4 separate regions of the Homo sapiens genome follow, and regions 1, 3 and 4 are each linked to region 2. The links are contacts of gene promoters, found by promoter capture Hi-C in blood cells and fetal thymus (Javierre and others, 2016). All regions are on one chromosome and are shown on one strand. The core of a region is centred on a gene start or on the middle of the fragment in contact, and the rest is flanking DNA. Distances in the headings are between cores, read along the strand shown.

What was found. Contacts are between HindIII fragments. The CHiCAGO score rates a contact against its expected background, and 5 or more counts as called.
Region 1: a contact is called between a fragment that was not itself captured here and the fragment with the promoter of HAMP in region 2, in 2 of 17 cell types (total B cells and naive CD8 T cells). The highest score is 5.5, in total B cells.
Region 3: a contact is called between the fragment with the promoter of HAUS5 here and the fragment with the promoter of HAMP in region 2, in 2 of 17 cell types (M1 macrophages and naive B cells). The highest score is 6.9, in M1 macrophages.
Region 4: a fragment that was not itself captured here is called in contact with the fragment with the promoter of HAMP in region 2 in 1 of 17 cell types (neutrophils); the score reaches 5.0 in neutrophils.

Annotation. Positions count from the first base shown.
Region 1 is chr19:35,591,897-35,594,596 of GRCh38, forward strand. No RefSeq gene overlaps it. Among named protein-coding and RNA genes, the nearest start is that of LINC01766, 4.6 kb to the right of the region's middle. The HindIII fragment of the contact is 9,877 bases long and covers 1-2,700 here.
Region 2 is chr19:35,281,161-35,283,860 of GRCh38, forward strand. It overlaps HAMP (hepcidin antimicrobial peptide), which reads left to right and starts at 1,368. Exons shown (of 3, transcript NM_021175.4): 1 at 1,368-1,507. The coding sequence starts at 1,418. RefSeq lists an enhancer at 1,230-1,739. The HindIII fragment of the contact is 2,484 bases long and covers 150-2,633 here.
Region 3 is chr19:35,611,295-35,613,994 of GRCh38, forward strand. HAUS5 (HAUS augmin like complex subunit 5) reads left to right here and starts at 1,441. Exons shown (of 19, transcript NM_015302.2): 1 at 1,441-1,598; 2 at 2,436-2,498; 3 at 2,574-2,606. The coding sequence starts at 1,501. HAUS5-DT (HAUS5 divergent transcript) reads right to left here and starts at 1,370. Exons shown (of 2, transcript NR_186318.1): 1 at 1,324-1,370. RefSeq lists enhancers at 1,175-1,730, 1,319-1,578. The HindIII fragment of the contact is 7,658 bases long and covers 1-2,700 here.
Region 4 is chr19:35,696,487-35,699,186 of GRCh38, forward strand. No RefSeq gene overlaps it. Among named protein-coding and RNA genes, the nearest start is that of ZBTB32, 6.7 kb to the right of the region's middle. The HindIII fragment of the contact is 1,755 bases long and covers 500-2,254 here.

The DNA of each region.
Region 1 (2,700 bases), core at 170-2,669, 310 kb after region 2:
AGGTCAGGAGTTCGAGACCAGCCTGGCCAATATGGTGAAACCCCCATCTCTACTAATAATACAAAAATTAGCTGGGCATGGTGGCACACAACTGTAATCCCAGCTGCTCGGGAGGCTGAGGCAGGAGAATCACTTGAACCCGGGAAGCGGAGGTTGCAGTAAGCCAAGATCACGCCATTGCACTGCAGCCTGGGTGACAAGAGCGAAACTCCATCTCCAAAAAAAAAAAAAAAAGTTGGAGTGAACATGCCTGCAAAATCTTCTGGGCCTGTAATCTTTTTCGTGTAGCAGATTTTGAGTACTTTGTCTTCACTATGATGGTGAAAGCAGCAACTCTCGGAGTCAAGTACAAGCCACTGTTATGAGCAGCTTCGGAGTATTGATTCTTTTGGTCTCCACACTAACCCTATAGCCTGCATTCTTACAGACTGAGGATAAAGCACAGGGAGCTGGAAAGACACAGTGCAGGTCTCACAGCGAATTCACTGAGGGGCCAGGATTGGGAACCAGGAAATCTGCCACCAAAAGCCGTGTTCTTAAGCACTAGGTGGACAACACTGCCTCCCATCGACCGTTAGTAGCAATTCAATCTTTTTACCTGCTGGAGTCACTTGTTAATCACTTACCTTTCTCTTAACAAATCATTTTTATTTTCGACATAGAAGCTAACTTGAAGGAGCGCCCACTGGCCCAGAGTGGTACAACTTAAACATCAAAAATATTAATAACGGCCAGGCGCGGTGGCTCACTCCTGTAATCCCAGGACTTTGGGAGGCTGAGGCAGGTAAATCAATTGAGGTCAGGAGTTCGAGACCAGCCCGGCCAACATGGTGAAACCTCGTCTCTACTAAAAATATAAAAATTAGCCAGCCGTGGTGACAGTCACCTGTAATCCCAGCTACTCGGGAGGCTGATGCAGGAGAATCGCTTAGAGCTCGGGAGTCGGAGGTTGTAGTGAGCCGAGATGGCGCCATTGCACTCCAGCCTGGGCAACAAGAGCAAAACTCCGTCTCAAATAATAATAATAATAATAATAGTAATAACAATAATAGATTTAAACACACCAAATATATATCATATTTAATGATGAAGGATGGAATACTTTCCCTATAAGATCAACAACAAGGAAAGGATGTCTGCTCTTGACACTCCTATTTGACATAGTGCTGGAAGTTCTAGTCACTGCAAGAAAAAAACGCAAACAGGGCCCGGCGCAGTGGCTGACGTCTGTAATCCTAACACTTTGGGAGGCAGGAGGATCACTTGAGACTAGGATGTCAAGACCAGCCTAGGCAACACAGCATGACCCCATCTCTACAAAAAATATTAAAAAATTAGCCAAGCATGGTGGCACATGCCTGTAGTCCTACCTGCTCAGGGGGCTGAGGCAGGGAGATCACTTGAGCCCAGGACTTTGAGACTGCAGTGAGCTATGATCACACCAACACTGCACTCCAGCCTGAGGAATAGAGTGAGACTCTGTCTCAAAAAAGAAAAAAAGGCATTTAGATTGGAAAGGAAGAAATAAAACTGTATCTGCAGGTGACATGAGATATGTGTGTGTGTGTGTGTCTGTGTGTGTAGTTGATGCAAAAATAATTGCGGTTTTTGCCATTGAAAGGAATGACTGCTGGGCATGGTGGCTCACGCCTGTAATCCCAGCACTTTGGGAGGGTTTTTTTTTTTTTTTTTTTTTTTGAGATGGAGTCTCACTCTGTCACCCAAGCTGGAGTGCAGTGGTGTGGTCTCGGCTCACTGCCAGCTCCGCCTCCCGGGTTCACGCCATTCTCCTGTCTCAGCCTCCCGAGTAGCCGGGACTACAGGCACCCGCCACCACGCCCAGCTAAATTTTTGTATTTTTAGTAGAGACGGGGTTTCACCTTGTTAGCCAGGATGGGCTCGATCTCCTGACCTCGGGATCTGCCCTCCTCAACCTCCCAAAGTGCTGGGATTACAGGCATGAGCCACCGTGCCTGGCGTTTTTCTTTTCGTTTTTTTTTTTTCTTTTTTTTTTTTTTTTGGAGATAGAGTCTCACTCTGTCACCCAGGCTGGAGTGCAGTGGTGTGATCTTGGCTCACTGCAACTTCCACCTCCTGGGTTCAAGCGATTCTCCTGCCTCAGTCTCCCTAGTAGCTGGGATTACAGGCGCCCACCACCATGCCCAGCTAATTTTTGTATTTTTAGTAGAGACGGGGTCTCACCATGTTGGCCAGGCTGGTCTTGAACTCCTGACCTTAGGTGATCCACCTACCTCAGCCTCTCAAAGTGCTGGGATTACAGGCGTGAGCCACAGCCCTGGACGGATGTATTTTCAATACATGTCTTTATAATGCATGTGAAAGCTAACGCATACATGGGAGACAATGAAGGGACCAATATGGTGGAAGTTTTCCATATTCCACTTGAAGTTGCAAAATATTCAATCTAGGTAGACTATAGAATGTTTAAGTGTGTTTACCATAATCCGTAGAGCAATCACTTAAAACTTGCAAAGATATATAGTGAAAATCACAATAAATAAATTAAAATGGAGTACTAAAATAGTATTTGAATAATCCAAAAGAAAGAAGGAAAAGGGAAAACAAGGAACAAAACACAGAAAAGTGGAAATAAAAAACAAATAATAGTAGACCTAAAGCAAAACATACCAATAATCATATTTAAGGCACATGATCTAAACACACAAGTTATAAAATATT
Region 2 (2,700 bases), core at 118-2,617:
TGTGCATGGTCTGCTATGTTGAGCCAGGTCTAGCATACCGCTGTGCCCTGCTGTGTTTTAGGGGAGATGGGGAAACCTGGTGGGTAAGAGCAAAAGCCCTGGAGTCAGGCTGTCCAGGCTAGAATCTCAGCTCTGCCTCTGGCTGAGCAAGCTTGGGCCATGCCCTGATCTCTGCCTTCAGTGCCTTTTCTGTAAAGTGAAGGAAATGAGTGTCCGACGGGGAGGAGGTTCCTAAAAGGGAGCAGGGTCTGGGGAGCCCAGGCCTCTGGGGTTGGGTGACTGAGAAGGCAGCCCCTGAATACAGAGCAGAGCTGAAGGTGGGGCAGTAAGTGCTGCTGGGAGAACAGGCAGCACAGGCTGAGTTGGTGCAGAAGTGAGTCAACATATGTGCCATCGTATAAAATGTACTCATCGGACTGTAGATGTTAGCTATTACTATTACTGCTATTTTATGTTTTATAGACAGGGTCTCACTCTGTCACCCAGGCTGGAGTGCAGTCACACAATCATAGCTCACTGCAACCTCAGCCTCCTGGGCTTAAGCGATCTGCCTCAGCCTCCCAAGTAGCTGGGACTACAGATGTGTGCCACCACGCCTGGCTAAATTTGTTTAAAATTTTTTTTGTAGAGATGGGGTCTCCCTATGTTGCCCAGGCTAGTCTTGAACTTCTGGGCTCAAGCGACCCTCCTGCCTTGGCCTCCCAAATTGCTGGGATTACAGGCATAAGCCACTGTGCTGGGCCATATTACTGCTGTCATTTATGGCCAAAAGTTTGCTCAAACATTTTCCAGTTACCAGAGCCACATCTCAAGGGTCTGACACTGGGAAAACACCACGTGCGGATCGGGCACACGCTGATGCTTGCCCTGCTCAGGGCTATCTAGTGTTCCCTGCCAGAACCTATGCACGTGTGGTGAGAGCTTAAAGCAATGGATGCTTCCCCCAACATGCCAGACACTCCTGAGGAGCCTGGCGGCTGCTGGCCATGCCCCGTGTGCATGTAGGCGATGGGGAAGTGAGTGGAGGAGAGCGGAACCTTGATTCTGCTCATCAAACTGCTTAACCGCTGAAGCAAAAGGGGGAACTTTTTTCCCGATCAGCAGAATGACATCGTGATGGGGAAAGGGCTCCCCAGATGGCTGGTGAGCAGTGTGTGTCTGTGACCCCGTCTGCCCCACCCCCTGAACACACCTCTGCCGGCTGAGGGTGACACAACCCTGTTCCCTGTCGCTCTGTTCCCGCTTATCTCTCCCGCCTTTTCGGCGCCACCACCTTCTTGGAAATGAGACAGAGCAAAGGGGAGGGGGCTCAGACCACCGCCTCCCCTGGCAGGCCCCATAAAAGCGACTGTCACTCGGTCCCAGACACCAGAGCAAGCTCAAGACCCAGCAGTGGGACAGCCAGACAGACGGCACGATGGCACTGAGCTCCCAGATCTGGGCCGCTTGCCTCCTGCTCCTCCTCCTCCTCGCCAGCCTGACCAGTGGCTCTGTTTTCCCACAACAGGTGAGAGCCCAGTGGCCTGGGTCCTTAGCAGGGCAGCAGGGATGGGAGAGCCAGGCCTCAGCCTAGGGCACTGGAGACACCCGAGCACTGAGCAGAGCTCAGGACGTCTCAGGAGTACTGGCAGCTGAACAGGAACCAGGACAGGCACGGTGGCTCATGCCTGTAATCCCAGCACTTTGGGAGGTTGAGGCAGGCAGCCCACTTGAGGTCAGTTTGAGACCAGCCTGGCCAACATGGTAAAACCCCGTCTCTACTAAAAATACAAAAGTTAGCCAGGCTTGGTGGCAGGTGCCTGTAATCCCAGCTACTCGGGAGACTGAGGCAGGAGAATTGCTTGAACCCGCAAGGTGGAGGTTGCACAGTGAGCTGAGATTGCACCACTGCACTCCAGCCTGGCAACAGAGCAAGACTCCATCTCCAAAAAAGAACAGAAATCAATGAAGCACCGAGTGACAGGGACTGGAAGGTCCTAATTCCATGGGTATTTACGGAACCCCTACGCCGTGTGGAGTCTTATTCTAGACAGTGGGGACGAGGCCATGAACAAGGTAGATGAGAGAGGAGATTTCTCCATCCTGGTCAGGGAATTTGTTAAAGACTGATGAAAACATGAATAAATAATTGTGTCTAGTACATTCTATTCGTGAATCTCATAACAGACAGTGGTAGAGTGACCGTGACCCATTCGCCACACAGTAGAGTCACTTTTTTGGTTTGTTTTTTAGAGACAGGGTCTTCCTCTGTTGCTGAGGCTGGAGTGCAGTGGTGCAGTCATAGTTCACTGCAGCCTCAACCTCCTGTGCTCAAGCAATCCTCCCACCTCAGCGTCCCAAGTAGCTGGGACAGCAGGCACATGCCACGGGTTGGGGGACCACAGGCATGGTCAAGGGGCTGGCAGTCAAGCAAGTGTTTCATGAGAAAGTGACAGTTGACCTTCGTCTTGGAGGGTGAGAGATGGAGGCAGCAAAGACCTAAGGAGAGGACAAGCCAGCATAGCCCAGGGTCAGGCTGAACAAGAGGAGATGGTGGGACTTGGGGATAAGGCTGAGGGGTGGGCAGTCCCTAAGTCTTGTGGGCAACCATGCAGACACTGATTTTTCCTTGGAATAAAGAGGAAGCCCCCATAAGCTTTTTTTTTTTTTTCTGAGATAGGGTCTCGCTCTGTCGTTCAGGCTGGTGTGCAGTGGCATCAT
Region 3 (2,700 bases), core at 191-2,690, 330 kb after region 2:
GTTAGAAACCAGGCTGCACAGCAGGAGGTGAGTGGCGTATGGGTGAGCATCACTGCCTGAGCTCCACCTCCTGCCAGATCAGGAGCGGCATTAGATTCTTACAGGAGCGCAAACCCTATTGTGAACTGTGCATACGAAGGATCTAGATTGCGCACTCCTTATGAGAATCTAATGCTTAGGCGGGGCATGGTGGCTCACACCTGTAATGCTAGCACTTTGGGAGGCTGAGATGGGCTGATCACTTAAGGTCAGGAGTTCAAGACCAGCCTGGCCAACATGGTGAAACCCCGTCTCTACTAAAAATACAAAAATTAGCTGGGCATGGTAGCGGGCGCCTGTAATCCCAGCTACTCAGGAGGCTGAGGCAGTAGAATCGCTTGAACCCCGGAGGCAAAGATTGCGCTGAGCCGAGATCGGGCCACTGCACTCCAGCCTGGGTGAAAGAGGGAGACTTCACCTCAAAAAAAAAAACAGGGAAGAAAAAAAAAAAGAGAGAGAGAGACAGAGAATATAATGCCTCACGACCTGAAGTGGAACAGTTTCATCCCGAAACCATCCACTGCTCCCACCCTCCATCCCCCAGACTGTGGAAAAATTGTCTTCCATGAAACCAGTCCCTGATGCTCAAAAGGTTGGGGACTGCTGGTCTAGCGCAGACCTCTCACACCTGCTGTGTCCCAAATTGACCCACCCCTGCTGCTTATTTTTACCACCCCTACCTGGTGGTGCGTCTGTCTCCCCACTCAACTGTGAGCTCCGTACAATAGGGACCAGGGCTGTTGTGGTCACCATGGTGTCCCCAGCATCACCCAGCACAGGGTCAGCTCCCTGAGTTTATGGAATGGTAAGCACGAATGAATGGGAAAACGCATGCCAGGGAAATGTTAGGGTCATGCTCTCTGCCCCTACCCTCCACTCAGACATGAGACACCTGTTTCTGAAATCAAAGAGCAGTAAGTCCAGGATCTCATTGCCTGGTTCCAGTCCTCCTAGGACGCAAGTCCCATTTTGTCAAGAAAATAAAGGGGGTGAGCGTGGTGGCTCACGCCTGTAATCCCAACATTTTGGGAGGCCGAGGCGGGAGGATCGCTTGAGCCCAGGAGTTCAAGAGCCCAGAAGCTGAGACTAGCCTGGGCAACAAGTGAGATCCCATCTCTATTAAAATAAAAGTGTTTAGTTAAAAGAAGAAAAAGAAAATAAATGGAAGCATCAAGGACTGTTTTGCCTCTTTCGGGTTAGCTGGTAGTGAGCGGGAGAACGAGGGAAGGCGGGCGGGGCTGCAGTCTCTCCACGCCCTTTTCATTTCCACTCAAGGAGACCTACCTGGGAAGAGTGAGCGCTGCAAGACCCAGCCTGACCGCGCTAAGATTACTATGCAGCGCCCGAGCCCGCTGTCTGCCCGGCAACCGATGACGTCACTGTTGGCGCGCCCGTGACGTCAGAGGCGGGCGCCACACTTGAAGAGGCTGAGGGAGGCGGTGTCGCCGCCGCGGCGCTGTCATGGAGCTAGCGCAGGAAGCGCGGGAACTGGGTTGCTGGGCGGTCGAAGAGATGGGGGTGCCCGTGGCGGCCCGGGCCCCGGAATCGACGCTGCGCAGGTGAGGACCGCTCCTGGAGTGAGGACACCCCACCCTGGAGATTGAGTCTCCGGGAGTGAGAACTCCACCCCTCATTGAGGACTCGACTCCCCCCAATTCCCCATCGAGAGTGACCCGACTTACTGAGGGCTCCCTACCCTGGGAGGCTCCCCAGAGTGAGGTCCCTAGCACTGGTGAGGATCCTCCACGAGTTAGCTAAGACCTCGCTCCTTATGGAAATAGGATCTCCAGAGTGAGGCTGTCCCCGCAGCACCTCCCCTCCCTCCCTTAACCTAACCAAGAAGGACACTCAGGAGTTAGCCGTGGCCACCCCATCGGGGATTGAAGCTGTAGGAGTGATGCCCCACGTCTGGTCATGAGATGGCACTTCCTGGCAGTACATCCCCCACCTCCACCTCTGGATGTGACTGGGATAACCCACTCCCAGGAGAAAGGGAGCACCCGCCTCTCCCGCGCTCCCCCACCACCCGCCTTCCCAGGGAATGAGAATAACACCACACTTAGTGCAAACATCCAGTCCCTACAAAAAAAATGTTTTACCAATTAGCCGGGTGTAGTGGTGCCTGCCTGTAGTCCTAGCTACTCTGGAGGCTGAGGTGGGAGGATCGCATGAGCCCAGGAGGTTGAGGCTGCAAGGAGCTATGATCGTACCACTGCGACAGAGCGAGACTGTCTCTTAAAAAAAAAAAAAAAAAAAAGGCAAAAAAAAGTTTGGGCCTTCCCTCCTCAAGAAGTGAGAACTCCCTAGTAAAAACTCCCTACCACCATCACCCTAGGAATGAGGATCCCACACCCTGTGTGCTGCCCCAGGCATATGCTTACACACTGTCCCCACAGGCTGTGTCTGGGCCAGGGGGCTGACATCTGGGCCTACATCTTGCAGCATGTGCACAGTCAGAGGTAAGCTGGGCTAGAGCAGGGGAGGGGGCACAGGTGAGGCCCATAGTAACTCCTCTTTCTGCCTCTGCACTGTAGGACTGTCAAGAAGATCCGGGGAAACCTACTCTGGTAACTGCTTCTTAAAGCTATCCCCTCCTGTCTTCCCCACTCCCATTTAGCCCTGTCCCCACCACAGCATCACACCTATTGCCCTCCCCCCTAG
Region 4 (2,700 bases), core at 127-2,626, 420 kb after region 2:
TCTTCCCCAGGGCTCAGCACCAATGGCATGCACCATCAGAATTTTTTGTTTTGTTTTTTTGAGATGGAGTTTCGCTCTTGTCACCCAGGCTGGAGTGCAGTGACCCAATCTCAGCTCACTACAACCTCTGCCTCCTAGGTTCAAGCGATTCTTGTGCCTCAGCCTCCTGAGTAGCTGGGATTACAGGCGCCCGCCACCATGCCCGGCTAATTTTTGTATTTTTAGTAGAGATGGGGTTTTGCCATGCTGGCCAGGCTGGCCTCCAACTCCTGACCTCAAGTGATTAGCCAACCTTGGCCTCCCAAAGTGCTGGGATTACAGGTGTGAGCCACTGCGCCTGGCCAGGAGTTTAATAAATATTTGAGTGAAAGTAAGTTTCTTGACCTTGACGCATGGGCCCTAGAGAGCTAGAAGACCTGAATTCTAAGCTTCATTCCTGTGCAACTGTGGACACTGAGCCTCAAATGTAATCATGGTCTGGGGTTTTTCCAGAGATCAAAGCTTGGGGAAAGTCCTTTGTTCTCTGAAAGGTACAGGGTTATTTTCACATCTGTTATGAACACTCGTGCCGTTGAGCTGAGCTCCTGAGTCTTAGTCAGCTGCCTGGCTCCAGGTGGACTTCCTGCTGTACCTCAGATATACTAAGCTCACTCCTGCCTTGGGGCTTTTGCGCTTGCTACTGCTTCTGGGAACACACTGCCCCCAGGCTTTCCCATGATCCCTTAATTTTCAGGGTCTACACCACAGCCAAGGCAGATGACACTGATTGCAAGGAAACAACTCGGTTACAGGGCATTGGGGAACAGAAGAAATGCCACTATTCGGCTCACGCCTGTAATCCCAGCACTTTAGGAGGCCGAGGTAGGTGGATCACAAGGTCAAAAGATCGAGACCATCCTGGCCAACATGGCGAAAACCCGTCTCTACTAAATATACAAAAATTAGCTGGGCGTGGTGGCCCGCGCCTGTAGTCCCAGCTACTCAGGAGGCTGAGGCAGGAAAATCGCTTGAACCCAGGAGGCAGAGGTTGCAGTGAGCCGAGATCGCGCCACTGCACTCCAGCCTGGAGGGCAGACTCCATCTCAAAAAAAAAAAGAAGAAGAAATACCACTGCTCTATTAGTTCATTTAATCCCCTCAATGACTTTGAGAGGTACACACTTTTTTTCTTTTTTTTTGAGACAGGTTCTCACTCTGTCACCCAAGCTGGAGTGCAGTGTTGCAATCATGGCTCACTGTAGCTTCTACCTCCTGGGCTCAGGTGATCCTCTTACCTCAGCCTCCCCAGTAGTTGGGATTACAAGTGTGTGCCACCACACCTGGCTAATTTTTGTATTTTTTGTAGCCATGGGGATTCGCCATGTTGCACAACCTGGTCTTGAACTCCTGAGTCCAAGCAATCCTCTCACCTCAGCCTCCCAAAGTGCTGGGATTACACATGTGAGCTACCACGACCGGGAGTATGTACCTTTTTTTTTTTTTTGAGATGACGTCTCGCTCCGTCACCCAGGCTGGAGTGCAGTGGTGCAATCTCAGTTCACTGCAACCTCCCCCTCCCAGGTTCAAGCGATCCTCCTGCCTCAGCCTCCCGAGTAGCTGGGATTACAGGTGCCTGCCACCACACCCAGCTAATTTTTGTATTTTTAGTAGAGATGGGGTTTCACCGTGTTGGCCAGGCTGGTCTTGAACTCTTGACCTCAGGTGATCTGCCTGCCTCGTTCTCCCAAAGCGCTGGGATTACAGGCATGAGCCACTGCACTCAGCCACTCAGCCCTTTTTTTTTTTTTTTTTTTTTTTTGAGACATAGTCTCACTCTGTTGCCCTGGCTGGAGTGCAGTGGCATGATCTCAGCTCACTGCAACCTCTGCCACCTGGGTTCAAGCGATTCTCACGCCTCAGCCTCCCGAGTAGCTGGGATTACAGGCTTGTATTTTTAGTAGAGACAGGGATTCACCATGTCGGCCAAGCTGGTCTCGAACTCCTGACCTCAGGTGATCCGCCCACCTCGGCTTCCCAAAGTGCTGGAATTACAGGTGTGAGCCACCATGCCTGGCCAATATGTACTATTAATATGCCCATTTATGATATGACCATTTAATATGCCCAGATGAAGAGATTAAGGCCCAGAGGGGTTAAGCAATTTGCCAAAGGTCTCACAACTAGTAAATAACAGGGCCAGGATATGATGCAGACAGTTTGGATCCAGCATTCAGCTACCTAGGCTGCAAGGCTCTCTGCTTCTCAGTGTACAGTTAAGCTTAGTTAGTGTAGGATCTGGCATGGGGAGTTGCTCAATAAGCAACTGAAGGCAGGGGCTTTTTATTTATTTTTCTACTTCTTTCAGACATTTAACTCTCCAAATCTTACAGTCCAACCCCCCAAGCCAAGCCAACAACCCTTCCTATACCATCTTGCCAGAGCCCAGGGTCCCTCACTCCATCTTCTCATGCCTTCCTGGCCCATAAAAAGGATTCAATAATTTGTAGTAATTAGCTGGGCATGTTGGCATGTGCCTGTAGTCCCAGCTCCTCAGAAGGCTGAGGCAGGAGGATCGCCGAGGCTAGGAGTTTGAGGCCACAGTGTGCTACGATCGCACCTGTGAATAGCCACTGCACTCCAGCCTGGGCAACACAGCAAGACCCCATCTCTAAAAAAACAAAACACAGGAAACCTGTATTGTAGACCAGCTTATTAAAACAGA